2 separate regions of the Homo sapiens genome follow, and region 1 is linked to region 2. The links are contacts of gene promoters, found by promoter capture Hi-C in blood cells and fetal thymus (Javierre and others, 2016). All regions are on one chromosome and are shown on one strand. Each heading gives the region's core, a stretch centred on a gene start or on the middle of the fragment in contact. The rest is flanking DNA. Distances are from core to core; before and after follow the strand shown.

The links. Contacts are between HindIII fragments. The CHiCAGO score rates a contact against its expected background, and 5 or more counts as called.
Region 1: a fragment that was not itself captured here is called in contact with the fragment with the promoter of ZKSCAN1 in region 2 in 1 of 17 cell types (M1 macrophages); the score reaches 5.2 in M1 macrophages.

Annotation. Positions count from the first base shown.
Region 1 is chr7:99,921,767-99,924,466 of GRCh38, forward strand. GJC3 (gap junction protein gamma 3) reads right to left here. Exons shown (of 2, transcript NM_181538.3): 2 at 1,500-1,837. The coding sequence ends at 1,779. LOC101927610 (a long non-coding RNA gene) reads left to right here. Exons shown (of 2, transcript XR_001745296.3): 2 at 1-2,700. Among named protein-coding and RNA genes, the nearest start is that of TRIM4, 3.6 kb to the left of the region's middle. The HindIII fragment of the contact is 773 bases long and covers 1,050-1,822 here.
Region 2 is chr7:100,014,201-100,016,900 of GRCh38, forward strand. ZKSCAN1 (zinc finger with KRAB and SCAN domains 1) reads left to right here and starts at 1,396. Exons shown (of 6, transcript NM_003439.4): 1 at 1,396-1,526. RefSeq lists a silencer at 1,482-1,651. The HindIII fragment of the contact is 19,683 bases long and covers 1-2,700 here.

The DNA.
Region 1 (2,700 bases), core at 186-2,685, 92 kb before region 2:
AAACTGTAAACCTAGCCCAATTTCTGACTAGACTGATACCACCGAACCACTGCTATGCACTCAAGAGCACTAAAGGCCTAGCAGAAGGAAAGACACACTCATCTCCAAGCATAAAAACAATCTTTACTTCATACTGTGAAGAGAGAATTGAAAAAATAATTTAAGCAAAAAAAATACAACATGACTAACTTTTAACAGAAAGAAAAAAAGACGCATACAGAAAGGCAAGAAAAAACACAGTCCAAAGAGATAAAACAATCATTAGAACCAGATTCATAAGACATAGACATTAGAAATATGAGAGAATTTTAAATAACTGTGATTAATGTGATGAAGGCCCTAAGGGGAAAGGTGAACAAAATGCAAGCTCAGATGGGTGATTTTAGCAAATAGATGGAAACTATCAGGAAAAATAAAATGGAAACTATAAAAATAAAAAATATAATAATAGAGATGAAGAATGCCCTCCATGGGCCCATTAGGAGACTGAACACAGTTGAGGAAAAAATCAGACTTGAAGGTAGGTAAATAGAAATTGCTGAAACACACACACACACACACACAAAAAGAGTGACAGAAACAGAACACAGCATCCAAGACTGGTGGGAAAATATCAACATCAAATCAAGAAATAGGCGCAGTGGCTCACCCCTGTAATCCCAGCACTTGGGGAGGCCGAGGCAGGCAGATCACGAGGTCAGGAGATCGAGACCATCCTAGCTAACGCAGTGAAACCCCGTCTCTACTAAAAATTCAAAAAAATTAGCCGGGCATGGTAGCAGGCACCTGTCGTCCCAGCTACTCGGGAGGCTGAGGTAAGAGAATTGCGTGAACCCGGGAGGCGGAGCTTGCAGTGAGCTGAGATCACACCACTGCACTCCAGCCTGGGCGACAGAGCAAGACTCTATCTCAAAAAAAAAAAAAAAATCAAGAAATAATGGCTGAGAATTTCCAAAATTTGTAAGACACCAAACCAATCCAAGGAGCTCAGAGAACACAGAGCAGGATAAATTCTTTAAAAAGAAACTAAGCTTATTGTATTCAAACTAAGCTTATTGTATTGATACCTGGTAGTTATAACTTACCAAATACACTGCCCAACATCTCCAGATGATCTATTATTTCTGAAAGTTTCCTTTATTACATTTCTTACTTCAGGGAGATATAGCCTTCGCTTCATGTTATGGTTGGTGCAGTCAGTATTCTCAGAAAGAAAGTACTGGTTCCATTTTACCTCCATCTTTTGTTTCCTGTCAGAAAACCTACCATACCACCAAGTACTCCTTCTCTACACTGCCTCTGATATTTAAGTAATTTGAGAATTCTGTTGAGACTATCTCCCTTTTTTGGTATGATGAATCTGGTCCTAAATTGCATGCCAAAGACTTTGAGAACTAAACTGTAGACCCAGATCTCATGTCCCAGACTGGCCTTTTGTTACCCACACAATGAATGGGTTAAATTGCTTGGCAGGGGACAGTCCAATGACCACAACCAAGGAGGATTTCCCAGGGGGATTTTATTACTTGCGATAAGTAAGGAGGACACTGGGAATAATTCCCCAAAGCAATGCCTCCCTGAGCAATGGTGCAAACATGGCTTTTATTAGTCTGGTTAGCTGAGTCATTGTATGTAGAGGTGGAGTCAAGGCAGCGCAGTCCCAGTTGTCGGTTATGCTGCTACATATGTCACATGTATAGAAAATGGTGAATAAGCTCCTCCTTGGACAGGATTTTAAGTATGGTGATGAGGAAAGTTGGCCAAAGTTCATCTCCAACTCAGGCATCTCTGGGTCCAACTGGTCTTTGTTTTTCCTGGGCTAAGCTTCTTCCTGGAACTTTTTAAAACAAAAATTCAAGATGTAACAGTTACAAGTGTGTAACTTTTTCACAGTGCGTACCCAAAACCCAAGGACCCTGGGTTACACTTTAGGTGCCACCCATGTGGGACCTATCAGAAGAGTACTACAAAGGCTTTGAAAACTGAACTGACATTGGAACCACAACCCTCAGAAGGCTGGTCAAAACTTATGACTTGAACCCAAATGGGTTAATTACCCTTTAAAACATAAATATCAACATCCTCCACCAAATTTAACCAAGACCCAGAGCATCCTAATGACATTCAAAATGTCCAGGATACAATCGATATTAATTGGCAGGTGAAGAACCAGGAAAATCTCAACTCACGTTGGGAAAAAATGTAACAGATGCAGAATGTAAGTTGCCACACATGTTGGAATTATCAAGACTATAAAGCTGCTATTCAAATGGAAAGTTTAAAAGTCTCAGAGAAGTAATAGAAAATACAAAGAATAGCCCCATGGAAATTTTAGAACGGGAAAATACAAAAACCGTCATCACATCATATCCGGGGCACATGCTGTCAACATTGCTCATCACTGTTGATGTTAACCTTGATCACCCGGCTGAGGTAGTATTTGATGGGTTTCTCCCTGTAAAGTTATTCTTTCCCCTCCCCCTATTTTACTGTTTAGTGGGAAGTCACTATGTGCAGCCCATGCCTAAAAAGGGAGTAGTTGGTGGGCACGGTGGCTCACGCCTGTAATCCCAGCACTTTGGGAGGCTGAGTGGGTGGATCACCTGAGGTCAGGAGTTCGAGACCAGCTTGGCCGACATGGTGAAACCCCGTCTCTGCTAAAAATACAAAAATTAGCCAGGCATGGTGGTGCACGCCTGT
Region 2 (2,700 bases), core at 146-2,645:
ACTGCAGCCTCAACCTCCTGGGCTCAATCTATCCTTCTACCTCAGCCTCCCAAGCAGCTGGGACCACTGGCACACACTACCCTGCACCCAGCTAATTTTAGTATTTTTTGTAGAGAGAGGGTCTCATTACGTTGCTTAGGCTGGTCTCCAACTCTTGGGCTCAAGAATCCTCCCGTCCCAGCCTCCCGAAGTGCTAAGATTACAGGCTTGAGTCATCGTGTCTGGCCCTGTCATTGCTTTTTAGTTTTCAAACATTTTTTAAAAAGTAAATCTGGCCGGGCACGGTGGCTCACGCCTGTAATTCCAGCACTTTGGGAGGCTGAGGCGGGTGGATCACAAGGTCAGTAGATCGAGACCATCCTGGCCAATATGGTGAAACCCTGTTCTCTACCAAAAATACAAAAATTAACCAGGCATGGTGGTGTGCGCCTGTAGTCCCAGGTACTCAGGAGGCTAAGGCAGGAGAATCGCTTGAACCTGGGAGGTGGAGGTTGCAGTGAGCCAAGATGGTGCCACTGCACTGCAGGCTGGGTGACAGAGCGAGACTCCATCTAAAAAAAAAAAGTAAATCTCTCCAAGCAGTAAGAGTCATGCAACCAAGCTACTGAGTTTCTCCCATGAACTTGTCTCGGAACATAGTGGAAAGTCACAACCATTAAAGCCTGTAGTCCCCCCCACCCTTGCACAACGTGGCCCCCTCTTATGCGTGCCTTACCCTGCAAGGCAAAGATGAAGGCTGTAACTGTGGTAGGTTGTGAAAGCACTTTGAAGGTAAAAGTGTCTGTTGTTACTCTGAAAACTCCTTTTAAACGGCTATAATAGCATATGCCACATGAGCAAAGCACAGAACCTTATAACTATGCTTGCTTGTGGAAAGACATCCCTTGTCCACGGGCCAAGTATTTGAAAATACCACTCCATATAGCTCCAGGGCCCTGAGAGAAGCTACCGTGGCAGCTTTGGGAAACCAGCCACCCTTGGCTTCACTTTGATCTTCCTCAGTCTACATCCTTGTTTCAGTTCCTTTGCCACAGACATACAATTACCAAGTACTATATTGCTTGATAATAACTATAATTACTACAAGGACTGCCTGAGATGAAAAAGACAGGTGAAATCGAACTTTCACATGGACTGGTGTCTGAGCTGGAGAGTCTGTTTGAGTTTGAGTAGGGGAAAGCCTGAAACCCCCCACCACCTGCTCCCGTTAGTCCCTGCATTAACTAGGGGCGGACTGGGACCTGATCCTCCAAGCTGGAGGCTTGAAAACTCAAGGGCAGGCGCCTGGTCCAGCGATTCGGAAACCGAGATGCAAAGTCCTCCCGCGCTCCTAGAGAGGACCCGGAAGCGCGGCGCGGTCCCGGAAGACGAGGTGGTGACACGCTTCCGGCCTTTGTGACTCATTGTGTCTGTGTCGAGGCGTCGGGAGGGCCTAAGTCCGTGTGCGGTGCCCTTCGGCCGGCCTGAGCCCCAGAGTCAGCTCCCCTTTCTCGCCCAGCGCCCCCAGGCCGCTCCCGGGGCTCACGGTGAGACTTGGGGCCGGCCTCTGGGGTGGGAGGGCGGGGCCGCAAGGGTGTGTGCGCGAGGGTGGGCTCCGCAGCTGCGGCCCTGGGACCCCCTCCAGGCGGCCCCGCTGTTGTGCGAAGAGAGTCCATGCCCCTGCCTCCTGGCCGGGCCCGGCCGTAGAAAGCGCCGTTCTTCCTGGGAGACGTCCCCGCCCCACCCCCAGGATCAGGCGGGGAGGGGGCGAGGGTTTCAGTGGCTGAGGGTGCCCGGAGACCCGGGGAGAAGCCGTCTGTGGGCCCCTCTCCCGCAGTGTCGTCATCGCCCTTTGACGTTTCTGCAAACGGGGTCGCGAGCGAACCGACCCCGGTCTTGATTTTTCTGCTCTCCCTTAGTCGCCATTTGCTTTGATTCCGGTGAGGTGTCTTTTTCCCCCCCCGGTTCCTTCGGGACCTCGAGGTGAAATGAGCGGAAGGATGAGAGATGGACACATTTTGAGGTGCCGCATACGTTTCCAGACCTGCCTTTCCTTCTCCCACCCTCATCACTGAGCGGTGATTAAAGAGTATTTGAAGCCTAGTCATAGTGGATAAATAGGTGATTGGGATCTAGTAGAGATTATATACACCCCACTCTTTCAGCTTGATGGAATGCTTTGAAGGCTTTGGAAAAGAGCTGTCCGGGACGTTAGGTGGATTTTTCAATTCTGGATAGTTGCTCTGTTTGACATGGAGTGGGGTGAGAAGTGAAGGGAATTTGTGGAAATTGCACTGTGTCACTAGGAGACTGATTAGCTGAGTGACCTTGGATAAGACGAGACACTCACCAAGTCTTAATTTCGTCATCAATAAAAACTAACTGGATTTTCTCAAAAGGCCCTTCCGACTTCGAAATGATTTGGTCAATGTAATTGAAGAATTAACTACAGTTTAGCTTGACACTCCTCCATCCCTCCCCTCCCTTTCCTGCAGTGCCCCCTGTACACAGTAAGATACTTTCATTATAGAGAGTGGCTGTTCCATGGCCTGGGACCAAAGAAAGCATTTATTGTACGGGCCAGTGCTAGGCGGATTGGAGGCGGTCAATAAATACTTGTTGAATTGAATTGTGGAGAATTCATTGTAACCACATCAGCAAAGCACTGTTAGTATATATGCTGAACAAATGTGGAGAAATCGCTGTTTTACATAGGAAACC